Regions from separate parts of the Homo sapiens genome. Here all the other regions are linked to region 2. Evidence: promoter capture Hi-C in human tissues and cell types (Jung and others, 2019). All regions are on one chromosome and are shown on one strand. Each heading gives the region's core, a stretch centred on a gene start or on the middle of the fragment in contact. The rest is flanking DNA. Distances are from core to core; before and after follow the strand shown.

Region 1 (2,700 bases), core at 111-2,610, 550 kb after region 2:
GAGCTGGGCGGGCCCCAGGGGTCTCACTGCTCCTCAGGACACACTGTCCCGGACCCCTGCCCCTGCCCTCTGCTCTGACCTCGCCCAGCCAGCGGCCTGCCATCCCCCTGCGAGTCTGAGAGGCAGGGGGAACGGGGTGGGGGCGGGTTTGGGTCCTGGCCTCTCTGCCTTTCCCTTCCAGGCTTGGCTATCGCGACTTAGCCGCCCAGTCCGGCCACTTGTTGTCGCCACCGCCTCCCGGGCCGCCTTCCCGGCGCGCCGGGCTGGGGGTCCCCGCAGGGCTGCAGGGAAGGGGCTACGGCCGCAGGTGGGGACGGGGGCGGCCCCGCAGCGGGCAAGAGCAGGGCAGTCGCCCTCTCCCCTTCTGCTGCTGCCCGAGCAGATTGAATTTTTAAAGCGACACGAGCGGAATGTCAATGCGAGCAGAGAGCCGCGGGCGGGCGCCGCGGAGGGGATCAGGATGCGGGTGCTCCGGCCGGGCCGGCGCTGGGGGCTCAGCGCGGACCCCCGCCCCAGTCCGCCGCGTTGCCGCACCGTCACCGCCGACTGCGCGGCCCCGTGACCCCGCTGCGGGGCCCGGCAAGTTTCCGCAGCGCTGGGGACCACGCGGGCAGGGGCTGGGCCGCTCTCCGCCTGAGCGACCCCCACCGCGGCGCCCCGGGGTGCGGACAGGTCTTGCCGCGGGGCACAGCTGCTAGCTGGGGCGCCCACCTGGCAACCGGCACCTGCGGACCGCCCCCCGCCCCCCGCCCCCGCGCCCCTGGCCCGCGCTTCACCTGGGCGCACAGGTAGGAGGGCCGCCGGGGCGGGGATCCCGGCGGACACTCACCCTCCAGCTCGTCCTCCGGGATGTCCACCGGGCGCTGCTCCGACAGCAGGTTGGGCACGGTGTAGATGCCCCGGTACATCAACGCCGCCGTCACCGGGTGGAACGGCATCTTGGAGGCTCCGCGCCCGCCCGCCCGCCGCAAACTTTGAGGCCGGGGCTCATGGGCCGGTGGCGGCCCCGGGGGCGGCTGGAGCGGGCGGGGCGCGCGGCTGCGGAGGGCGGCGGCGGCAGCGGCGAGGCTGGGGACGCCCCTCCGGGGGCCTAGCGCCCCCGCGCCCCGGGCCGCCGGGCCATGCCGCCCGCTCCCTCGTCGGGCTCCCAGCCGGGGCCCCGCAGGGGCAGCGGGGGCGGCGCCGCTCTGGCCTTTCCGAGAGCTCCGGCTGCCTCGCGCGGTGCCCGCCGCGCCCGCTCCTCGGTGCCCCGCGCGCTCCGCGCTGCTCGCCGCCCGCTAGTCCGCTCGCCGGCGCGGCCGCTACCGGCCCGGCGCTCAGGCTGTAGCCGCCTCTCCGCTCGCTCGCTCGCTCGTTCTGTGCCGCGCTGGCTGCGCTCCCCGCCTCCCCCGCCAGCCGCCCGCCCGCCCCCTCCGCGCTCCCCACCCCCAGCCCGCCCCTTCCCGCCGCCGGCCCCTGAGCGGCCGCCCCAAACCTGCCCGGGGCTCCTTCTCCCCTTCGGCCCCGATTCCCCTTTCCCACTAGGGCTCCCCTCTGTTCACTGGCTCTCCTCACCCTAAGTCTGCAGCCACCAGGACCAGGGAGGGGGTGGGTTGCGGGGGTCCTCCTTCCTGCCCCTTGGCTCACCTTCCCCCATCCACGCACCAGGAGCGGAGAGCCCGGAACTAAGAACTGTAGACCCAGAGAGGTGAGACTGGCCCCAAGCACCTGGGTCCTCAAGAAGAGTCACCGTTTCCGTGCCAGGAGGATCCAAGGTGGGGAAACTGAGGCTGAGAGAGAAGGACGTTGACCAAGGTCACAGGGCAGGAGCAGCAGGTAAGAGCTGGGTACACGTCTGGGGTAGGCTTCCTGCCCTGCCTGTGACTGACACCCTGCCGCTGACCTTGCTCCCCACAATGGGGCCCCAGTCCCGGACCCTTCCCAAGCCCCTACCTTTCAGCTTGCAGAAGAGGAGCCAAAGTGTCTCATGGCCCCCAGGGCAGTTCGGGACAGAGACATGGCCCGGTGCCTGTGGGGTCTGGTGTGAGGGCCTGCCAGTTCACATGGCTGCAGCTCAGACCTAATGTATGTGCAGGGCTTCCCCAGGCCCCAGGGCACGTCGGCACCCCAGAGCTGGGGTGGGGGCAGGTGTTTGAGGGAGCAGCCTGCGTGTGCATATGTCTGCTATCCATGAGGGTGTGTATGTGCCACTGGGCACGTGCGCAGGTGTCTGTGACTCCATATGCAGATGGACAAATGTCGGGAGTGTGTGGCCACCTGTGTGTGCCAAGGTTGTACGCTGGCAGGTCGGGGGAGGTGTGCAGGCCCTGGGGCTGGGAGTGGTGTGGGCATATGGTGCACAGATGTGCATGGGAGGGGGTGACCTTCTGGCCTGGCTGTGGCCCCATCTCTGGGTGCTTCCCTGAATCCCCCTACTGGGACCACCTCCCTGCCCCCTTTGGCCCAATCAGCTAAAGGTCCCAGCAGGAACGCTGATTGCACAGCCCTGCCCGGTCCTGCCCTGCCCTTCCCAAGCTGATTACACTTTTCTGCTTGTTTCTGTTTTTGTTACTGATTAATCGCAGCCTTGTCTCAGGGTCTGGGGAGAAGGGGCTCAGTGAGAGATGCTAGCCCCAGCCAAGCGGGGTTGGGTCAGCCTGGGCCCAGCACTTCCTGGGCCCTGCTCTGGAGGGAGCTCCTAGAAACATCTATAACCTGCGG
Region 2 (2,700 bases), core at 4-2,503:
CTCCCCAGACTCCTGAGGGCCTCCTCCCACCCGGGCTTCTTAGGGTGCAGGCCAAGGACCCTCCTCTGGGCCTGGGAGATGTGCTGACCAGGCAGGGTCTATAGGCCTGGGCCAGCCTCTTGGCCTCCCTGTCTGCCTTCACCCAGGCCTCAGTTTACCCCACAGTAAAGTAGCAGTTTGACTAGGGAGGCGCTGTTCCCAGGGCCCTTTCGCAGAGGACCAACCTAAGATCGCTATCTTTCAGAGAAAGTGAAACCTGGTCCCCAACTGTCAAGGCGGCAACTCCCCCTCCCCGGCTTCCCCTCTGAGCTCACAGCTTCCCCATCTCCTCCTTCCCCCATCCCGCCCCCTCGACAGCTAATACTTGGAATCAGACCTTCATCTTTGCTTTTTCCTTCAGAGGTCTTTTCCTTTTATGTCCATGCTGGCAGCAACCCTGTGAGGTGGGCTGGGAAAGGCTTTTCTCCTCCTCATTTTATAGTTGTGGGTCTCTGAGGCCCAGAGAGGTTAAGTGACTTGCCTCAGGTCACACAGCACCTCAGCAGGCTTGAACCCTGGCCTCCTGTTTCTCTTGCTCCAAGTGTCCAGTTCTCCCCAGTGGAGCCTGCCTACAAAGACAAGGCCTGGCTTTGGGGAGTGGGCCTGGCAGAGGGTGCACGATGGGGGAAAGGAGACCGTCGGGAGCCGGGCTGGGGGATGCTGGTCCTGGGGCCTGAACCACAATCTCGGGGCTGCCAGCCTGCGTCTGGCTCTGTGCCCAGAGCCCGGTGGTTTCCGCTCACAGATGTCCCAACAGCCCCGGCGAGAGGGCAGGAAGGGCACTCAAGAAGGAAGATGTCTCGCTCCCCTCAGCCCCCAACCACCGTGTCCTGTGAGGCCAATGGCTCCTGGGCCAAGACTGGCCTGGGGCCTCCAGAGGCCCAGCTCGAAGTCCCTCCTGCCCATCCCTGGCCCAGTTCCCTGAAGATGGCATGGACCCTTTTCCTCCCCACTCACCCTAGGAAGGCTGAGGCTGCGGTTTTACATCATCCTTGGGCGTAGGGCTGACCTCGAAGAACGAATTCGAAGAAAACAGGAGGAGGAGCGGGCATACACCGCGCCCTGCGCCCATTGGCCGCCCGTGGAAATTTTGGTTTTTGGGGTCATGTTCCCAGAAGGCCTGCCCTCCCCCCTCCCCATCCCCACCCACCTCATGAGGTGTTGGCCAATCGCCCCAGCGGGCATAAAGTGGCTGCCAGCCTGCAGGGCTCCCAGCCGAGAGGTGTCACCCCCAGCGGGCGCGGGCCGGAGCACGGGCACCCAGCATGGGGGTACTGCTCACACAGAGGACGCTGCTCAGTAAGTACTTCCTTCCTCCCCGCCAGAACCCGCCTGCTGGGTCTGCCCACGGGTGCCGGTGGGGAGCAGAGGCACCCTCTGCCCTCCGGGAACTGGGGAGGCCAGGCGCCAGGCAGAAGGATGCTGAGAAGGGGAGAGAGCCAGGAGGTCAGGCAGAGAGAGTGGTCCACTGAGAACCTGGCATCTCCACAGGTAGAGAAGGGGCATCCCTGGAAGGCTTCCAGGGGGAGGTGATGTCAAGATGTAGAGGCAACTCTGGGAACCAGGGGGTGAGAGAATAGGATGGGCAAAGAGGCTGGGCAGGAGAGGGAGGCTCAGAAGCTGGGCAGGGAAGTGGTGTGAGGTGTGGAGGGGTTGTGGGGCCTCCAGCTTGCCCGGGATGAATAGAAAGTCAGCCAGGCCTGGGGGCCCCAGGGCCCACACAATCACACAGCATGCACAGCCACACCCACATGGCCACATGCGCACACAGCCATATGACGTCATCTACAGCCCTGGATCTCACCAGCCCAGGAACCCCCACATGCAGACCAGAGTCCCCATGGTGAACGGAACAGGTCTCCCTCACGCCGCACACAGACCCAGATGCACAGCCACACAGAAACCCCAGTCCCACGTGCGCTGCCACAGGCACAGGCCCCTGCCAGAGCCCGGCAGCAGATACCTGGGGAGGCGGCGAGGGTGCCGTGGGGTCGCTAAGCCTGGGTGCCTGGCCCCTTGGCCCTCCCCAACAGCCAGTCTTCCCCAAAGGGCCGGATGGTTCTTAGGACGGGAACGATGGTGTCACTGCCTTCCGGGCCATTGCGCCATAGGCCCCTTCCGACCACGTGGCTGCCGGTGCCCCGTTGGGGGTGGTGGTGAGCGGTAACTGTACCCGCCCCCAACACCTTCTGACAGGCTCACAGCATCCCTGGTGGGCCTGACAGAAGGAGCCACTTATGGAGAGAGGAGGGAGGCAAGAGAGGTCAGGGGAGAGCCCTGGCCTTGTGTGACCTGAGTAGGACCTTCTCCTGAGACTTGGTTTACCTGTCAGGAAAGTGGGGACATGGACTGGAAGGTCTTCCACATCTGTTCCAGGCTGCACCTCTGGTTGAAAAGGCAGCCTCTCCTGGTTCTAGACAGAGCTGAGGACACAAGCTGCTCCCGGGCTGCCTGCCCTGAAGCCCTCTCAGGCCCATCTACCTGGATGGCCAGAGCAGCTGACAAGGCAGGTCCTAGGGCAGTGGCCGGTCTTTAGCCCAGTGGTCTTGCAGGGAGCCAGTCCCACCTTGCAGAGAGTCAGCTCCCGAGGTTAGAACCGTGCTGTAGGCAGGACTGGGATCCGGCCAGGCACTGCAGCCTTTGCTCAAAGACCTACTTGGT
Region 3 (2,700 bases), core at 122-2,621, 700 kb after region 2:
CGCGCGTCCCCCTCAACTCCTCTGTCCTGCAGTTTCTATTCCAAGGACAATGAAGGCAGCTGGTTCCGCTCCCTCTTTGTTCACAAAGTGGATCCCCGGAAGGATGCCCACTCCACCCTGCTGTCCAAGAAGGAAACCAGCAACCTCTATAAGATCCAGTGTGAGTGGCTGCTGAGCTGACCAATTTCTGCCCTTTCAGGGGCTCTGGGGGCCTGTGAGGCTCCAGGAAGGAGATGGGAGGGTCTGGAATGTCCTCAGCTGTCCTGGGACCCCTGGCCTTGATGGGCTCCCCTCACCCCAAGTTCTTCCCTGTGTACACACCCTACCTCACTTCTTGTTCTCTGTCCTCTGTTGCAGTTCACAATGTAAAGCCTGAATACCTGGATGCCTACAACAGCCTCACGTGAGCACCCTGCATCCATACATCCCATCCCCTGCTTGGGTGGGGAACACACTTTCAGCAAATTTGCGGAACATCCTCCACCCTGTTCTTTTCTGTAGAAATCCAGGAGATGTAGATTTCTTTTATTTCTGCCTTTTTCTTTCTTTCTTTCTTTCTCTCTTTCTTTTTTTTTGAGATGGAGTTTTGCTCTCGTTGCCCAGGCTGGAGTGCAATGGCGCGATCTCGGCTCACTGCAACCTCTGCCTCCCAGGTACAAGCGATTCTCCTGTTCCAGCCTCCCAAGTAGCTCGGATTACAGGCATGCGCCGCTAAGCATGGCTAATTTTTTTGTATTTAGTAGAGACAGGGTTTCACCATGTTAGTCCGGCTGGTCGCAAACTCCTGACCTCAGGTGATCCACCTGCCTCGGCCTCCGAGTGCTGGGATTACAGGCATGTGCCACTGCGTTTGGCCCCATTTTCTTTCTTTCTTTTTTTTTTTTTTAAGAGATGGTCTCCAGGAGGCGGAGGTTCCAGTGAGCCGAGATTGCGCCATTGCACTCCAGCCTGGGCAACAAGAGCAAAACTCTGTCTCACACACAAAAAAGAGAGATGGGATCTCACTTTGCTTCCCAGGCTGGTCTCAAACTACTGGGCTCAAGCAATCCTCCTGCCTCAGCCTCCCAGTGTTGGGATTACAGGTGTGAGCCACTGTGCCCAGCCAGGATGTAAATTTCAGTGTCGGAAGTCCTGAGGGCCTCTTGCCTAGCTTCTGCATTTTAGAGATGGAGAGTCTGAGGCCCAGCCCCAGGGTCTGTTTGAACTGAGTTTGAACCCTTATCTCAGAGGCCCTGGTGGCTATGTGAACCCTGCCCCTCTCTGCACCTCCCCCACAGGGAGGCTGTGCTGCCCAAGCTTCACCTGGATGAGGACTACCCATGCTCACTCGTGGGCAACTGGAACACGTGGTATGGGGAGCAGGACCAGGCAGGTAAGGCGCTCACCTCCCTAGTGCCATTGCCACTGCCCAGCCCTGGCCTCCAGCACCTTTCACACCTGGCTGTTCTCCACTCCCTCTCCACAACAGCACCTGGTGGGGCTCTTACTAAAACCTCATCACCTCACTCCCCTGCTCAAATACCTGTCCTGGCTCCCCTGTGCCCTCAAGGTGACCCGTGAAGCCTGTGACTCCTTCCCGGCCCTGCCCCCAGCCTCATGGCACCAAATCCTCCATGCCTCGCTGTGCTGTCCCACCCAGGACTCAGTTCCTCAGATTGACAGTTTCACTCTTTAGTTCCAGACTACTGCTCATTCTCTTTCTTCTGCCTTAAGCATTATTTCTTGTTTGCCTGCTTTACCTGGATCACTGTCTTTTATTCTTTTTTTTTCCGAGACTGAGTTTCACTCTTGTTGCCCCAGGCTGGAGTGCAGTAGTGCAATCTCGGCTCACTGCAACCTCCGCCTCCCCAGTTTAAGCAATTCTCTTGTCTCAGCCTCCTGAGTAGCTGGGATTACAGGCATGTGCCACCACGCCCAGCTAATTTTGTATTTTTAGTAGAGACGGGATTTCACCATGTTGGTCAGGCTGGTCTTGAACTCCTGATCTCAGGTGATCCACCTGCCTCAGCCTCCCAAAGTGCTGGGATTACAGGTGTGAGCCACCGCACCCGGCCTTTTTTTTTTTTTTCTTTTTTCTTTTTTGAGACAGGGTCTCGCTCTGTCACCCAGGCTGGCAGATAGTGGCACAGTCTTGGCTGACTGCAACCTCCACCTCCTGAGTTGAAGATATTCTCCTGCCTCAGCTTCCCGAGTAGCTGGGATTACTGGCCTGTGCCACCAGGCCTGGCTAATTTTGTATCTTTAGTAGAGATGGGGTTTCACATGTTGGTCAGGCTGGTCTCGAACTTCTGACCTCAGGTGATCCACCTGCCTCGGCCTCCCAAAGTGCTGGGATTACAGGAGTGAGCCACCACTCCCGGCCTTTTTTTTTTTTTTTTTTTTTTTTGAGACAGGGTCTTGCTCTGTCACACAGGCTGGAGTGCAGTGGCATAATCTTGGCTCACTCGAGCCTCAATTTCCCAGGCTCAAGCAGTACTCCCACCTCAGCTTCCTGAGTAGCTGGGACTATAGGTGCGCTCCACCATGCTCGGCTAATTTTTGTGTTTTTTGGTAGAGACGGGGTTTCTCCATGTTGCCCAGGCTGGTCTTGAATTCCTGAACTCAAATGATCCTACCTCCTCGGCCTCCCAAAGTGCTAGGATTGTAGACATGAGCCACCGTGCCTGGCCTTTCAGTTTTATTCATTTTTAAATTTTCATT

The links. The method cuts DNA at HindIII sites, captures the fragments that hold promoters and counts their contacts. A contact is called where the count stands out against the background at its distance.
Region 1: a contact is called between the fragment with the promoter of CABP7 here and the fragment with the promoter of OSM in region 2, in 3 of the 25 tissues and cell types used here (mesenchymal stem cells, small bowel and spleen).
Region 3: a fragment that was not itself captured here is called in contact with the fragment with the promoter of OSM in region 2 in 1 of the 25 tissues and cell types used here (lymphoblastoid cells).

What each region holds. Positions count from the first base shown.
Region 1 is chr22:29,718,663-29,721,362 of GRCh38, reverse strand. CABP7 (calcium binding protein 7) reads right to left here and starts at 1,360. Exons shown (of 5, transcript NM_182527.3): 1 at 830-1,360. The coding sequence starts at 938. It overlaps CABP7-DT (CABP7 divergent transcript), which reads left to right and starts at 1,460. Exons shown (of 3, transcript NR_186695.1): 1 at 1,460-1,815. RefSeq lists an enhancer at 1-51. The HindIII fragment of the contact is 29,567 bases long and covers 1-2,700 here.
Region 2 is chr22:30,265,404-30,268,103 of GRCh38, reverse strand. It overlaps OSM (oncostatin M), which reads left to right and starts at 1,253. Exons shown (of 3, transcript NM_020530.6): 1 at 1,253-1,338. The coding sequence starts at 1,305. RefSeq lists enhancers at 1,850-1,949, 2,010-2,089. The HindIII fragment of the contact is 14,267 bases long and covers 1-2,700 here.
Region 3 is chr22:29,567,865-29,570,564 of GRCh38, reverse strand. It overlaps NIPSNAP1 (nipsnap homolog 1), which reads left to right. Exons shown (of 10, transcript NM_003634.4): 2 at 33-160; 3 at 358-403; 4 at 1,278-1,372. Among named protein-coding and RNA genes, the nearest start is that of NIPSNAP1, 12 kb to the left of the region's middle. RefSeq lists an enhancer at 1,091-1,385. The HindIII fragment of the contact is 3,498 bases long and covers 1-2,700 here.